Linked DNA regions of Homo sapiens: region 1 is linked to region 2. The links are contacts of gene promoters, found by promoter capture Hi-C in human tissues and cell types (Jung and others, 2019). All regions are on one chromosome and are shown on one strand. The core of a region is centred on a gene start or on the middle of the fragment in contact, and the rest is flanking DNA. Distances in the headings are between cores, read along the strand shown. Region 1 holds the start of GUSB (glucuronidase beta). Region 2 overlaps TYW1 (tRNA-yW synthesizing protein 1 homolog).

Region 1 (3,726 bases), core at 1,015-3,514, 1.0 Mb after region 2:
TTATGGTCTAAGAATGTATGTTCAGAGCCCCAGCTAAGGAATCAGGAGTGGCAAGATCCTGGAAGGATGCCAATCTATGAAACCCTGAGTCAAGAGGTCAAGCTGGGCACTTGTTTTCCTTTTTCTTTTTTTTTGTAGGAGTTTCACTCTTGTTGCCCAGGCTGGAGTACAATGGCGTGATCTCGGCTCACTGCAATCTCTGGTTCAGGCGATTCTCTCACCTCAGCCTTCCCGAGTAGCTGGGATTACAGACATGTGCCACCATGCCCAGCTAAATATGGAGATGCGGTTTCTCCATATTGGTCAGGCTGGTCTCGAACTCCCAACCTCAGGTGATCTGCCTGCTTCAGCCTCCCAAAGTGCTGGGATGACAGGCGTGAGCCACCGCACCTGGCCAAGGCACTTGGTTTCTTAGATCACCCACTTGGCCCTCTTCCAAGTTGTACTTTCCTTCTTTCCTTCCTGTTCTAAAGTTTTTTAATATTTTTTTTTTTCCTGAAATGGCATCTCACTCTGTAGCCCAGGCTGGAGTGCGGTGGCGTGATCTCAGCTCACTGCAACCTCTGCCTCCTGGGTTAAAGCATTTCTCCTGCCTCAGCCTCCCAAATAGTAGGGATTACAGGTGCCTGCCACCACGCCTGGCTAATTTTTGTATTTTTAGTAGAGATGGGGTTTCTCCACGTTGGCCAGGTTGGTCTCAAACTCCTGATATCAAGTGATCCTCCCGCCTTGGCCTCCCAAAGTGCTGGAGTTTGGAGTTACAGGCCTGAACCTCTGTGCCTGGCCTGCTTTTTTTTTTAGACTGAGTCTTGCTCTCTCGCCAGGCTGTAGTGCTGTGGTGCGATCTCGGCTGACTGCAACCTCTGCCTCCCGCGTTCAATCGATTCTCCTGCCTCAGCCTCCCGAGTAGCTGGGACTACGGGCGCATGCCACCATGCCCAGCTAATTTTTTAGTAGAGATGGGGTTTCATCATATTGGCCAGGCTGGTCTCAAACCCCTGACCTCGTGATCCCCCCACCTCCGCCTCCCAAAGTGCTGGGATTACAGGTGTGAGCCACTACGCTCAGCACTGGCCTGCTTTTTAACAAGCTTTTACTACTGCTCTGCAGCTTACCTCCCTCTGGCTTTCTGCCTTATGCCCCTCAGTGCAATTCTTTCTTCTGAGGAGGCAAGAATTGAGGTTGTTGCTGATGTGTAGGGATTCACCACCCGGAACTCCACCAGTAACAGGTCGAGGATGCTAGTTGAAAATGTTATGTAAGCTGCATGCTTTTTACAAATGGTAGTGGTTCTCATGTCCAGCAATGGCCACTGCACCGTCCCTGTATGAAAGTCCCCTCCATAAATCTATGTCTCCTTTGCTGTCTCCAGATCTCCTCCTCTACCTCTCCCACACGGTGCCTTCCCTACTGGAGTAAACTGGGGTCCCGCAGGGCACCCTTTCCCTGCAATTTTTTTTTTTTTTTTGAGACAGAGTCTCGCTCTGTTGCCCAGGCTGGAGTGCAGTGGTGCGATCTCGGCTTACTGCAGCCTTTGCCTCCCGGGTTCAAGCGATTCTCCTACCTCAGCTTCCTGAGTAGCTGGGATTACAGGCACGCACCATCACGCCCCGCTAATTCTTTTTTTTTTTTTTGTATGTTTACAAAATAGGGACGGGGTTTCACTATCGTTGGCCAGGCTGGTCTCGAACTCCTGGCCTCAAGTGATCTGCCCCCCTCGGGTTCCCAAAGTGCACCTGGCCTCTCTCCCTGCATCTTTATGTGCCTGCAACACCAAGAGGGAGCTCTTGGCCCCTGGGTTAAGGTCAGGGCTCCAGAAGCCCAGGGTCAAGGCTATGGCCGCATCCCAAGGACGTGCATCCCTGCAAGAGGCTGCATCAGACAGGCATGGAAGAGGCGCCGCTGGGGCCTCCTTGAATTCCTGCTGGGAAAAGCAAGTGGAGGTGCTCCTTGAAGAAACAGGGGGATCCCACCGATCTCAGGGGTTCTGTTCTGGCCTGCGGCCCTGGATCGTCCAGCCTGGGTCGGGGTGGGGAGCAGACCTCGCCCTTATCGGCTGGGGCTGAGGGTGAGGGTCCCGTTTCCCCAAAGGCCTAGCCTGGGGTTCCAGCCACAAGCCCTACCGGGCAGCGCCCGGCCCCGCCCCTCCAGGCCTGGCACTCGTCCTCAACCAAGATGGCGCGGATGGCTTCAGGCGCATCACGACACCGGCGCGTCACGCGACCCGCCCTACGGGCACCTCCCGCGCTTTTCTTAGCGCCGCAGACGGTGGCCGAGCGGGGGACCGGGAAGCATGGCCCGGGGGTCGGCGGTTGCCTGGGCGGCGCTCGGGCCGTTGTTGTGGGGCTGCGCGCTGGGGCTGCAGGGCGGGATGCTGTACCCCCAGGAGAGCCCGTCGCGGGAGTGCAAGGAGCTGGACGGCCTCTGGAGCTTCCGCGCCGACTTCTCTGACAACCGACGCCGGGGCTTCGAGGAGCAGTGGTACCGGCGGCCGCTGTGGGAGGTGCGATCTCGGGGCAGGGCCGGGAGGCGCCCGAAAGCCCGGCGGTGGGAGTAGGGGAGCCCGGGCCCCCCGCAGACTTCTTCCCCTGGGCGTCTCCGAGCTGGGGCCCGCAGGAGGTTAAAGGTCAACGGGCTTGGGGGCGCCGGCTTGGGGGACGGGGGAACAGGAGCACCCTGGAGGGCCGGGGCGGATTAGGCAGGAGGAGAAAAGGCTCTTGCCGAGCCCTTTCCCGAGGTAAAGGCTGAGTCTGTGCAGTATCCTTCCTTTCAATATTTATTTTTAATTTTTAAAAATTTTTTTGAGACTGGGTTTGCACCTGTTTCCCAGGCTGGGGCGGAGTGGCGCCAGCCTAACTTCTGAGCTCAAGCGATTCTCCCGCCCCAGCCTTGCAATTTAGGGGGTGCCAACACGCCTGGCTAATTGAAAAAAAAAAAATTATCTGGGCTCGGTGGCTCACACCTGTAATCCCAGCACTTTGGGAGGTGGAGGCGGGCGAATCGCCTGAGGCCAGGAGTTTGAGACCAGGCTGGCCAACATAACAGGGTGAAACCTCATCTCTACTAAAAATATAAAAATTAGCCAAGTGTGGTGGTTCATGCCTGTAATCCCAGCTACTTGGGAGGCTGAGTCAGGAGAATTGCTTGAACCCGGGAGTAGAGGTTGCAGTGAGCTGAGATCAGGATGCCACTGCACTCCAACTTGGGCGACATAGTGAGACTACGTCTCCAAAAAAAAAAAAAAGGCAAAAAAACTTAAAAAAAAAAAAAAGATACAGGGTGTCACTATTTACCCAGGGTGGTCTCGAACTCCTGGCCTCAAGCCATCCTCCCACGTTGACCTCCCAAAGCGCTGATTACTGGCATGAGCCACCCACACACTCTGGCCACAGCGGCATGCACTGCACAGAGCTGGGCCCGGGGATCGGGAGAAGGTGACAGTTTAGATGTCCTGAGGTCAGCTCTGCCGAGGCAGGAAGTCCCTTGGTTTTCAAGGTTCACATAGAGGACAGGACATGACATCAGGCCCAGGACGCCACCCCTGTTCCCCTCCTGACTTGGATGTGATCTGCAGAGAAGTGGAACTGGGTGAGGTCTGGGCGGCTTTTGCCTGGTCTACATCCTCTTATTCTGACTTTGCAGCATTCAGTACAGGAGGGAAAGAGGAGGGGGCTGGGTGCCAGTGTGCACCCCACTCACAGTGTCCTAAGCAAAGCTCCCCCCATT
Region 2 (3,798 bases), core at 132-2,631:
TGCACTCCAGCCTGGGCAACAAGAGCGAAACTCCATTAAAAAAAAAGACATTAACTAATGCATTGAGGTCACACAGCTAATAAGAGATTTCTCTGATTCCGAAACCCATACTCTCTGCTTTTGACCTTTTGGTTGGATTGCCCATGGTCTACAAGTATAGCACACTGCCATCAATAACAACCCTTCCTTAATTAAGAGATTCAAAATAGCGGGGAGGGCTGGGCATATCTATAATCCTAGTACTTTGGGAGACTGAGGCCAGGAGTTCGAGACCCACCTGGGCAATATAGTGAGACCGTATCTCTATAAAAAATCTTTTGGCCAGGCGCGGTGACTCACGTCTGTAATCCTAGCACTTTGGGAGGCCGAGGCAGGCGGATCACAAGGTCAGGAGATTGAGACCATCCTGGCGAACACGGTGAAACCCCATCTCTACTAAAAATACAAAAAATTTGTCGGGTGTGGCGGCGGGCGCCTGTAGTCCCACCTACTCGGGAGGCTGAGGCAGGAGAATGGCGTGAACCCGGGAGGCGGAGCTTGCAGTGAGCTGAGATCGCGCCACTACACTCCAGCCTGGGTGACAGAGCGAGACTCCATGTCAAAAAAAAAAAAAAAATCTTTTAAAATTAGCAGGGCATGGCAGCACATGCCTGTAGTCTCAGCTACTTTAGGAGGCTGAGGAAGGAGGATCACTTGAGCCCGGGAGGTTGAAATTGCACCACTGTACTCCAGAGCCTGGGTGAGAGAGTGAGAGCCTGTCTCTATAAAATAAATTTTAAAAAAATAAAAATAGTAGGGGCCAGGCACAGTGGCCCATGCCTGTAATCCCAGCACTTTGGGAGGCCAAGGCGGGCAGATCACTTGAGGCCAGGAGTTTCAGACCAGCCTGGCCAACATGGTGAAACCTCATCTCTAGCAAAAAACACAGACACACACAAAAAAAATTAGCTGGGCATGGTGGTGCATGCCTGTAAATCCCAGCTACTTGGGAGGCTGAGGCAGGAGAATCACTTGAACCTGGAGACGGACATTGCACTGAACTGAGATTGCACCACTGCACTCCAGCCTGGGTGACATAGTGAGACTCCATCTCAAAAAAAAAAAAAAAGAAAAGAAAAAAGAAAATTGTGGGAAGGAGTGAACTTCCAACCACCCAAGCTTTCTCACCTCTAGCCCTGCCCCAGGAGAATTTAACATGCCTGAAGAACAAGCCCCACACCACGTGAGAATCAGTGAACCTTACCCCACATTCAATTCTCTGATTCACACTGGAATTCAACTAACTGAAATCCCTTAGCACGAAAATTAAATTTATTCTGAAGATTCTAGTTATCTAATTAAATTTACTGTGAAGATTGCAGATCAGTTAAATTTGAGAGTTTTGACTGAAGAAAAAGACAATTACCAACCTCTTCTATCAGATGATCATCTGGATCATATTCTTTTAGATTAATAATGGCCACAGGCAGATCCAGGGATGTAACTGCTTCAGCAAGAACTGTTGCGAATCCCTAATAGGACCAAAAAAAACATCAAATAAAGTCTTCAATGAGCCAAATATAACCCTCATTACCCCTGTTGGCACAAGAATGTGGCATTCCTCATGAAAAATATTTTCAGTGACTGATATGTATCTTCATGAACACAAATTCTATCCTCACTCTTACCATTTTCTTGGGCACCATTACAGAGATCATTCATTTGTGTTGTTCTCACCCGATCAGGGTTTACATAGGACTGAATCTAATTTGGCTTTGGATGATCAATCTGCCTTGCCCTACTAGAGTAAACATATCAGCCAGGCAAGATGGCTTATGCCTATAATCCCAGCACTTTGGGAGGCTGAGGTGGGAGGATCACTTGAGGCCAAGCCTGGACAACAAAGTGAGACCTCATCGTTATAAAAAAATTTAAAAATTAGCCAGGTGTGATGGCACACACCTATAGTCCCAGCTACTCAAGAGGCTGAGACGGGAAGATCCCCCGAGCCCAGGGGTTAGAGGATACAGTGAGCTACGATCACACCAATGCACTCTAGCCTGGGCCACAGACTCAGATCCTGTCTCATAAAGAAAATAACATATTAAAAAACAATAAACACAGAGAAGTGCAAAAAGAAATAGTGAAGAATGGGCTGGGCACAGTGGCTCACACCTGTAATCCCAGTACCTTGGGAGGCCGATGCAGTTGGATCACTTGAGGTCAGGAATGCGAGACCAGCCTGACCAACATGGTAAAACCCCGTCTCTACTAAAAATACAAAATTAGCCAAGCGTGGTGGCACACACCTATAATCCCAGCTACCCGGGAGGCTGAGGCAGGAGAATCACTTGAATCCAGGAGGCGGAGGTTGCAGTGAGCCAAGATTGCACCATTGCACTCCAGTCTGGGCAACAAAACTCCATCTCCAAAATAAATAAATAAATAAAATAAAAGAAAGAGTGAAGAGTGAAAAGAATGGGAAACATGAAAAGAAGCCGGTTGACAGACAGGAAAAAGTCCTAGGGAAGAGTTCACAGGGCTAACAGAACCCCAGAGAAGCTCTAGGCTGGGAGCAGCCACTACAACAAAAGATGGAATGAATATCTTTTGTACGCTAATGAGATGGCTTACTGGAGTGAGGCCTCAGATAGCTTCAGGATGGAGGCTCGTTGCCAGAGAAACTGATGAGAAGTTAAACTCAGCACCTCCTACCCCAGCCCCAACAGGGAACACTAGGGAGAGAAGAGGGGCTGGAGATTGAGTTTAATCACCAAGGCCAATGATTTAATCAATCGTGCCTATGTAATGGAGCCTCCAAGAAAAACCCCTGAACAATGGAGACTGTTGACTTGGTGAACATACCAATGTGCTGGGGAGAAGACACGGCCAGAAACGGCCTGGAAGCCCTGCTCAACCCCCACCCCTCCATAGCTGGCCCTGTGCAGCTCTTCCATTCGGCCGTTCCTGAGTTGCATCCTTTATGATAAACCACTAAACATAAGTCAAGCAACTTCCTGAGGTCTGTGAGTCATCCTATAGAACCTGAGGAGGCAGTGGTGCAGAACCCTAAATTTAAAGCCGGGACTTGTGACTGGTGTCTGAAGTGGGGGCAGTCTTGTGGGCTAATGATAACTCCCAATAGTAAGCATGAGAACTGGTATAGAAAAAGGACAGGTTGGCCAGGCGTGGTGGCTCACACCTGTAATCCCAACACTTTGGGAAGCCGAGGCGGACAGATCACCTGAGGTCAGGAGTTCAAGACCAGCCAGACCAACATGGTGAAACCCCATCTCTACTAAAAATACAAAAATTAGCCAGGAGTGGTGGTGGGCACCTGTAATCCCAGCTACTTGGGAGGCTGAGGGAGGAGAACTGCTTGAATCCAGGAGGCAGAGGTTGCAGTGAGCCGAGATCGTGCCACACTGCACTCCAGCCTGGACGACAGAGCGAGACTCCATCTCAAAAAAAAAGAGAAAAGGTATTTGGGGGTCAGAAAACAGTACTGCAGCAGGCCTCAAGGACTGATACGGTTTGGATATTCGTCCCCTCCAAATATCATTAACACGTAATCTCCAATGTTGGAAGTGAGCTCGAATAGGAGGTGTTTGGGTCATGGGGGTGGGTCCCTCAGGAGTGGCTTTGTTACCAGTGGAGGGTCTTGCCTAGGAGTTGTCCAGGTTGTTCACATGTTCAACAAAGAACTGAAAAAAATGCAACAAGCGAAGCAACAAAAACACAGATTTATTGATGGGAAGGTACACTCTACAGTCAGGAAGCAGGCTTGAGCAAGTGGCTCAAGAGCTCCAGTTGTTTTTA

What was found. The method cuts DNA at HindIII sites, captures the fragments that hold promoters and counts their contacts. A contact is called where the count stands out against the background at its distance.
Region 1: a contact is called between the fragment with the promoter of GUSB here and a fragment that was not itself captured in region 2, in 1 of the 25 tissues and cell types used here (hippocampus).

Annotation. Positions count from the first base shown.
Region 1 is chr7:65,980,751-65,984,476 of GRCh38, reverse strand. GUSB (glucuronidase beta) reads left to right here and starts at 2,264. Exons shown (of 12, transcript NM_000181.4): 1 at 2,264-2,503. The coding sequence starts at 2,294. RefSeq lists enhancers at 2,089-2,218, 3,675-3,726. The HindIII fragment of the contact is 22,673 bases long and covers 1-3,726 here.
Region 2 is chr7:67,007,296-67,011,093 of GRCh38, reverse strand. TYW1 (tRNA-yW synthesizing protein 1 homolog) reads right to left here. Exons shown (of 16, transcript NM_018264.4): 4 at 1,410-1,511. Among named protein-coding and RNA genes, the nearest start is that of TYW1, 12 kb to the right of the region's middle. The HindIII fragment of the contact is 7,836 bases long and covers 1-3,798 here.